Linked DNA regions of Homo sapiens: all the other regions are linked to region 2. The links are contacts of gene promoters, found by promoter capture Hi-C in blood cells and fetal thymus (Javierre and others, 2016). All regions are on one chromosome and are shown on one strand. Each heading gives the region's core, a stretch centred on a gene start or on the middle of the fragment in contact. The rest is flanking DNA. Distances are from core to core; before and after follow the strand shown.

What was found. Contacts are between HindIII fragments. The CHiCAGO score rates a contact against its expected background, and 5 or more counts as called.
Region 1: a contact is called between a fragment that was not itself captured here and the fragment with the promoter of MED9 in region 2, in 1 of 17 cell types (M0 macrophages). The highest score is 5.1, in M0 macrophages.
Region 3: a fragment that was not itself captured here is called in contact with the fragment with the promoter of MED9 in region 2 in 2 of 17 cell types (monocytes and neutrophils); the score reaches 6.7 in monocytes.

The regions. Positions count from the first base shown.
Region 1 is chr17:17,671,001-17,673,830 of GRCh38, reverse strand. No RefSeq gene overlaps it. Among named protein-coding and RNA genes, the nearest start is that of SMCR2, 5.3 kb to the left of the region's middle. The HindIII fragment of the contact is 313 bases long and covers 1,186-1,498 here.
Region 2 is chr17:17,475,423-17,478,452 of GRCh38, reverse strand. It overlaps MED9 (mediator complex subunit 9), which reads right to left and starts at 1,453. Exons shown (of 2, transcript NM_018019.3): 1 at 1,188-1,453. The coding sequence starts at 1,411. RefSeq lists an enhancer at 1,350-1,449. The HindIII fragment of the contact is 9,122 bases long and covers 1-2,684 here.
Region 3 is chr17:17,635,781-17,638,645 of GRCh38, reverse strand. No RefSeq gene overlaps it. Among named protein-coding and RNA genes, the nearest start is that of SMCR2, 40 kb to the left of the region's middle. The HindIII fragment of the contact is 7,472 bases long and covers 1-2,865 here.

The DNA.
Region 1 (2,830 bases), core at 93-2,592, 200 kb before region 2:
TTCAAATCATTTTCTTCCAAAGCACAGGTTCATCTTTCTTCACGTTGGGGGTTTTCATTATTTAGACAGGGCTGACCCAGCCAGATAGATAGATCCTTGGTTTGTCAGCCACTGTGTGCAGAACCCAGGAGCTCTCCAACGTAACTCTCATCAACTTCAAGAAATTCTACAACTTTGAAGTTTTCCTTTGCTACCAGCTTGCATAAGCAGACCTGACAGACAGAAGAGATGCAGATGGGGGGTGGACAGATGCTGGTGCTAGGTAGGGTGAGATGCTTGACTGGGAACGAAGTAAGTGGCCAGGACAGTACTAAATATATTCATGTTTTAACAACTCTTAACTTCCAACTCAGATAATGAATGCTCAGCTATGGGGCACCCTAATCATACAATTAACTGTATCAGCCCAAGATCTCTTGCATCTGGAGTTAGCGAGGGATAAAATTCCATCTTGTTTAAGCCGGTGTTATTGTGGATCTCTGTTATAAAGCCTCTGTCCTACCTAATACATCTAGTCTTTTGGTGGTAATTACAATCAATTTTCCTGTGGGCACCATTCTTTCCCACTTATGGCCCATGTGGTTCAGGCTGGGCGGTCCCTACCTCTAGGATGCAGAGATTGTCACGTGACTCAGGTTTGACCAAACTGCCCCATTTGCCTGGCCACAGGGATTGGTTCAGGAATGGTTCGAATGACCTAAGCCCTCCAGGAGTTTTGCTGGAAGCACTGAGCTTTGCTGGAGCCTCCAGGGGTAGTTGTTGAGACTGTGGGTCTGAAAACAGAGCCAATGGGGAAGAATGAGGAGTTGAGAGACATGGAGACACCTTCTGGGCACCTGGATTCAGCTGCGCCTGAAGCTCAGCAACCCCAGGACTTTAAGTCACTTGAGCCAATACATTCACCTTTTATCATAAACCAGTTTGAGCTGGTTTTCTGTCACTTGCCTGAAAAAGAACTGAGACTTTACACAGAGAAGAAAAATTTGGAATGGGGAGAAAAGGAGAATGAGCACTGTCTTCAAAGATCTAAAGGGCCGCCTGGGCTTTGTGTGATCACACACAGACTGTGTGGTTCCAGTGGGCAGAGGGACTGGACCAGGCTTCTGGCTCTTTATGAGGAACTTTCCCACAATTAGAGCTGTTCAAAGAGGGCCCCAGGCAATTTCAAGAGAGAGAGAGGAAGCTTCCCGTTTCTGGGGGTATGCAAACAGAGCCAGGATGTGGTGAAAGAAACTCAGGCTGACTAGGAGGACAGAGATCCTGTAATTTGTGAATGTGACTTAGTACCTCCAACCAGCTTTCATGTAGAGCCGGAGAATATCAGTCACACCCAATCTTTAATTATAAAATATTTAAGATATTCAAGAAGGTATGGAAGATAATTCACTGATCACTCCTGCATTCACCACTGTCAGCTCAAGAAATAAAACCACCAGGACAGCCGAGCTGCTGACCACAGACCCCTCCACCCTCCTGATCCCCCGCTGGTCATTAAGCTTTGACTACCCATGCACAGTCCTAAGGGATATGTACTTCAGAGGTCTTTTTTAAATAGAGGGGTTAGAATTGCCATGCTTTCAGGCCCTACAGATTTTTTGTTATTAAATAAAAGTGCTTAGCTACTAATAAAACATGTGTTTTCTTTCTTTTTTAATAATAGAAAAGTATGACAAGAGCAGTCCCTGAACAGTTTTTCATCTTGTTTATATGAAAGCCATTTCCTCACCTCCCCTCCCCACCCCCGCCACCCAGCCTCCCACACCTCGCTGTTCCCAGCTCTGGATTCCATCTCTGGGCTCTATTCCCTGCTGATAATCACAATTCCAGGATTGAGACTGAGATAAGGCGTATCAAGCACTTTGCACATTCCCTGGCATATAGTAAGCACTAATTTTAGCACTAGTTGTCATTATCACTGTCATTGCCATCTCGGGAATTGCTCCACCCCCATCCCTTCCCCTTGGCAGGAAGTTGCCAACCCTCCACTGCCTCTGCTCACCCACCTTCTTCAGGTTGTCCTGAAATTCCACTGATTTTACCCTTCACTACCTGCCAGACCACAATCTCTGCAACTGGTTTCCTTGCCTTCGGTCTCAAACCCCCATTCACCCTCCTCACGGTGGCCCAAGCAATTGTTCCTTTCCAGTATGTGGCTCCCTGGCTTGCCCCCACCTCCGTGATGCCCCCAAGGCCCCATCCCTGCAGACTGACTTGCAGGTTCCTCAACTACCTCTTCCCTTACTCCTCTGAGCAGCCCCACGTGCTGTTCCCTCTGCCCAAGATGCCCTTCCCCTCTTGCTCTGTCTGGCTCCTCCCTCCATATCCTTCCAGGCTTAGCTCAAGAGTGGGCTCCTCCAGGATGCCCTCCCAGGCCCCCCGGTCAAATCAGGCTCCCGCTCCCTGGGCAGTGTGCCCAGGCCTACTCTACAAGCCTCTAACAGCCTCTGGGATCATGATTCTTTGTGAGTCTCCCTTGCTCCAGGTGGCGAATTTCTTGAAGGCAGGAGGAATGCTGTCTTCCTCAGCAAATCGCTGTGGCATAGCAATTTAAAAAATAGTATCCCTGACTTTTCTAAGCTTTTTGCTCCTTCCAACTCGCTTATGCTTCCCAAGAACCCGGGGGGGAGGTCCTGAACCAGCCCCATTTTACAGATGAGGAGAGGAGGCAGCGTGTGTGTGTGCTTCCTGCGGCTGCTGGAACAAATGACCACAAACCCAGTGGCTTAAAACAATGCACATCTATTCTCTTACAGTTCTGCACGCCGGAAGTCCAAAGTCAAGGTGTGGGCAGGGCTGGCTCTTCCTCGAGGCTCTGGGGGAGAATCCTTGC
Region 2 (3,030 bases), core at 204-2,703:
TAATTTGCTTAAACTCAAAAGTGGGTGGGCCACTAACAGTCAAGACCTTCACGTTGTAACAATTCCATTTCAGTAAAACAGTGAAGAGCACATTCATGTTCACCTGAATGTTACTGGAATCGTAATTTTCTTTTAATTTACTTTGTTTTGGTCTTTAATGGTTGAGTAAGAGTTACAAGCCTAGGGGTTTACACCTAGTATCACGTGGATATACAGTGAAGTAACATAATGAAAATAATTTACAGCCTGGGCAACATGGTGAAACTCCATCTCTACAAAAAATACAAAAATTCGCTGGGTGCCATGGCTCATGCCTGTGGTTCCGGTTACTTGGGAGGATGAGGTGGGAGGATGGCTTGAGGCCAGGAGGTTGAGGCTGCAGTGAGCCGAGATCACGCCACTGTACTCCAGTCTGGGTGACAGAGCGAGACCCTCTCTCAAAAAAAATAATAATTTAGGCAAACATAAGGATCAGTGAGACTTTTGTGTTTTTGTTTTTGGTTTTTCCTCTACAGAGTCACTTTGAAAACTCAGGCTACCCTGAAGGCTGGCCAAAAGGATGACAACAATTATTTCCTTTGGTACTGTTAGAACAAAGTCAGTACAAGTGGGTCTAATCATCTGAGGCAACTTCTGTGTTTCTGCTTAGTCTAATGTTTCCCATCGCCACCACTCCCGTCTCAATCTTTTTGAATTGTGGGTTATTCCCAATCATGTCTTTTTTTCCTTCTATCTAAACCTTTGGGGGTGAAAAGTTGGCCCCTTTTACTGCGTCCATCCCGTAGCACTTGGCACAGGGAAGATGATGCTTATCTGTTGAGTTTGCTGAACTAAGGAACTAAAGTGAGTATTACCAACATTAAAGGTGAGAAAACTGAGGCTTAAAGAGATTTAATTTGCTCAAGATCGCTGGGATGAACATTTGAGCCGCTGGACAAGAGTCTGCATTTAGTCTCTAAGCTGGCTTCATTCTTAAGGATATCGCACCTCTCGAGGCTCAAATCGTTTGCTTAACTCATGGAATGTCTCTGTGGTCTTGGGAAAGGCCTCTTCCCGCTCTGGGTCTGAGTTTCCCCATCTGTGAAACGGGGGCGTGCCCCAGAGCGCCAAGGCCTCTTGCAGCTCTGAAACGGCTGAGAGGAGAAGCTGGAGGGAGTATGGGGCCTGGTCCTCTCCTAGGTTCTTACCATTTGATGATGTTGTGAACCAAAGGTAAAAAGGAGTAGTTCTCTTCCTCCCTCGCGCGGGCAGGTGACTGAGGCCGTGGCGCCGGCGACTGCTGCGGTTGAGGCGCAGGGACCGGCGGCGGCTGAGGAGGCGGCAGCGGCTTGGTGTCAGGCAGCGGCTGGTCGGACGTTGGCGGCAATACATCCTCCGCCTGTCGCCCGGCTGCCACCCCAGCAGAGGCCATGGCTCCGGGGGTAGGTTAGCCAGAGGTCGGGTCGCCAAAAGCGTCGCGCACTCTACACGTCACCACCGCGCGCCCTGCAGGGGCGGGGTGTGGAGGAAGGCTCTGAGCGTGCGCACTGGGCAGTCGGCGGGAAAAGGCGCGGAGGCGGGGGTGGGGAGGCTGTTGCTAGGCAACGGGCCGTGGGTGGGTCTGGGGTGCCTGGATTTGGATTGTGAGTCAAGATTGCTAAATTATTAAATAGTGAGAAATAGGGGTTTATTTCAGAAATAACAATCTTTTTTTTTTTTTTGAGACGGAATTTCGCTCTTGTTGCCCAGGCTGGAGTGCAGTGGCGCGATCTCGGCTCACCGCAACCTCCGCCTCCCGGGTTCAAGCGATTCTCCTGCCTCAGCCTCCCTAGTAGCTGGGATTACAGGCATGCACCACCACGCCCGGCTAATTTTATATTTTTAGTAGAGACGGGGTTTCTCCATGTTGATCAGGCTGGTCTCGAACTCCCCACCTCAGGTGATCCGCCCGTCTCGGCCTCCCAAAGTGCTGGGATTACAGGCGTGAGCCACTGCACCCGGCCAGAAATAACAATCTTCTTATTCCTATTCACACGATGAAGAGGGCCCCAAAGCCACAAACACAGGAAGCCTTGAGATTAGTAAGGTGCAGCCTGGCCCAGTGCACCCAAGTCTGGAGAGGAGCCACTGGACCTGTGGGAGGCGTAGACAGCACTTACCTGCTGGGTGAGGCACCAAACCCGGCCCAGCCCACAGTGCAAGACATCGAGACCTCGAGTTTAGCCCTAAGGACGCAGAGGCAAAGGGATTGCGGTCCCTTCAATGCTGCAAGGTTGCTTAGAAAGAGTCTAATAATTCAACTCAACACACATTTAGTATGCACCTGCTGGATGGCCACCTGTATGTGTGGTTGCAGGCAGGCTGTCCTTGCTTTCAGTACAAGGTAGAGGGGATTGGTGCCAGGAGTAAATATCATATCCTGGAAGAACGACAAGGTCAGGTACTCTCCATACCTTCGGGCCAGTTCCCCAAGCCCCTAGGTCCCAGTTTCCTCACCCCTAAAATCATATTTAGTTCAGATTCATGGCACAGCCTAAACTGCATTCTAACTTCACATGCGTGGCTGACCCCAAAAGGTCTTGTTGGCATGAGGACTCCCTAGGATCATAGGCCAAAGATGGGTTTATGGTTATGCTTCTCAAAACAAGTTTGATATGAGGGCTGTGTAGTAATTTTCCGGGCAATGGGGACACCCACCCCAAGCTTAGCTAGTGAGTAGAAGACATGAGTGGGGAAAGCTGTCAACTGGTGAGCCCATTCTGCTGTAATCCACCATCATGGGCAGTACAGAGAGGCGAGGAGGTCCACATCCACATAGCATGATGAACAGGAGCCTTAAGAGCAAGGTGGCCAGGGAAAGGATCAATGCTGATATTTTCAGGCACATTGGGAGGGCTGTGCGGAGGCAGATCCTTGGGGAGTAGGACCATAGATGGAAGTGCTGTTGGAGGGTGCGCTGTACAGGTTCTGTAGTAAAGGGCCTCAGCACAGCTCTCTGCAGCAAGAGCTGCCCACGGTGCCCCAGAGAGAGAGCAAAGGGAGGGAGTGGGT
Region 3 (2,865 bases), core at 225-2,724, 160 kb before region 2:
ATCTAATCCCAACTACCTCCCAAAGGCACCACCTCCAATCAACATATGAATTTGGGGATTAAGTCTCCCACACATGAAATTTAGGAGACACATTCAAAACACAGTAGTCTGCCCTGGGCCCCAAAATGCATGTCCTCACATGCAAAATGTACTCATTCCATCCCCAAAGCCCCAAAGTCTTAACCTGCTCCAGCATCAACTCAAAAGTCTGCAGTCCAGAGTCTCATCTGAATGAGATATGGGTGAGACTGAAGGTACGATTCATCCTGCGATGAATTCCTTCCAGCTGTGACCCTGTGAGATCAAACAAGTTATCTCCTCCCAAAATACAGTGGTGGCACAGGCATTGGATAGACATTCCCATTCCAAAAAGCAGAAGTAGGCATGATGAAAGGGGCAGATGGTCCCAAAGAAGCCCAAACACAACAGGGTAGATATTGTATCTTTTTTGTTGTTGTCTGTCACCAGGCTAGAGTGCAGTGACATGATCTTGGCTCACTGCAACCTCCGCCTCCCGGGTTCAAGTGATTCTCCTGCCTCAGCCTCCCGAGTAGCTGGGACTACAGGTGTGCACCACCACGCCCAGCTAATTTTTGTATTTTTAGTAGAGACGGGGTTTCACCATGTTGGCCAGGATGGTCTCGATCTCTTGACCTTGTGATCTGCCAGCCTCGGCCTCCCCAAGTGCTGGGATTATAGGAGTGAGCCACCAAGCCTGGGCTAAACATCACACCTTAAGACTCCAGAATAATCCTTCACTCTGTGTTCCGCCTCCTGGACATACTGGGGTGGGGGGTGGGCCCCAAAGGCCTGGGGCAGCCTGGCTTCCATGGCTTTGCTGGGCCCAGCCCACACTTGAGCTCTCCCTGGCTGGCGTTGCACACTGGTAGCTGTACAGTTCTCGGGTCTTGGTGATGGTCTCACTGCCTCAGCTCCACCAGGCATTGCCTTCATGAGAGGCTTTTTGTGGTGTCTCCACCCCTGCAACAAATCCTGCTTGGGCTACAAGGCTGATACAGCCTTTGAACTAGGCAGAGGCTGCCATACTCACAGCTCTTGCTTTCTGTGAGCCTGTAGAATTAGCACCATGCAGATGCCACCAAGGCTATGGGCTTATATCTTCCAGAGCAGTGGGTCCAGCCACACCTGGGGCTGCTTGTGCCACAGCTGGGACAGTGGAGGAAACACTACATGAGAGCACGGACACTCTAGGGGGCCCTGGACAGCAAATCCATGAAGGGTGCCTGGCCTGTCCCCAAAACCATTCTTCCTTCCTAGGCCTCTGGGTCTGTGATGGGAGGGCCAGCTTGGAAGATCTTTGAAATGCTTCGGGGTCTTTCTTCCATTCTCTCATTTATTTATTTATTTATTTATTTATTTATTTTTTTGAGACAGAGTCTCACTCTTGTCGCCCAGGCCCGAGTGCAGTGGCATGATCTCAGCTCACTGCAACTTCCACCTCCCAGGTTCGAGCAATTCTCCTGCTTCAGCCTCCTGAGTAGCTAGGATTACAGGCGCACGCCACCATGTCTGGCTAATTTTTGTATTTTTAGTAAAGATGGGGTTTCACCATGTTGGCCAGGCTGGTCTCGAACTCCTGACCTCGTGATCCGCCCACGTCAGCCTCCCAAAGTGCTGGGATTACAGGCATGAACCACCGCACGCGACCTTTCTTCTATTCTCTTGCCGATCTTTCTCCCTGTACTAATTTCCTTAGCGAACAGTTGCTGGGCCACCCTTTTGGTTCCCTCTCCTGAACATGCCTCTTCTCTCTTTATGTGGCCAGGCTGAGAATTTTCCAAGACTTTCTGCTTTGCTTCCCTTTTGATTATAAATTTCATCTTTAAGTCATTTTCCCTCTTGCAGCTTAATGTAAGTAGCTGTGCAGCAGCCGGAACACTTTGCAGCTTAGATAGTTCTTTTGCCAGATATCCTAATGTATTGCTCTCAAATTCTGCATTCCATAGAGTCCCTGGCACAGACACAATCCAGCCAAGTTCTTGGCCAGTTTATAACAAGGACGGGCTTTACTCCAGTTTCCAATATCTTGTTCCTCCGTTCCATCTGAGACTTCATCAGAGTGGCCTTTATTCTCCACATTTCTATCTGCATTCTGGTCATGACCACTTAAGTAATCTCGCAGAGGTTCCAGACTTCCCCTAGTCTTCTTGTTTTCGAAGACCTCACCAGAATTGCCCTTAATGCTCTTTTTACAGCAATACAGGCTTTTCTAGCCTGCTTCTCCAAATTCTTCCAGCCCATTGGGTAATGCTACTCATTTCAAAGCTGCTTCTGTGTTTTTGGGTATTTGTTACTAGCAACACTTCTCAGTACCAATTTTCTGTCTAGTGTATTCTCTGTTGTTATAACAGAATATCACAGACTGGTAGTTTATAAGCAATAGAAGTTTATTTAGCTCATGGTTCTATAGGCTGGGGAGTCCAAGAGCATGGTGCCAACATCTGGTGAGGGCCTTCCTACAGCGTCAGGAAACGGCACAGTGTGTCACATGGCGAGAGGGCAAGAGTGTGCCAGCTCAAGTCTCTCTTCCTCTTCTTATAAAGCCACAAGTCCCATCATGGGGCCCCACCCTGACGCCCTCATCTAATCCTAATGACCTCCCAATGGCCCCACCTCCAATCAACATATGAATTTGGGGATTTTTTAAATCATTTTTTAGGGGGGCTAGAGATGGGGGGGTCTCACTATGTTGCCCAGGCTGGTCTTGAACTCTTGACCTCAAGCCATTCTCCCACCTCAGCCTCTCAAAGTGCTGGGATTATAGGCATAAGCCACCACACCCAGCTGGAATTAAGTATTTTTTTTTTTTTTTTTTGAGACACAGTCTCACTCTGTCGCCCAGGC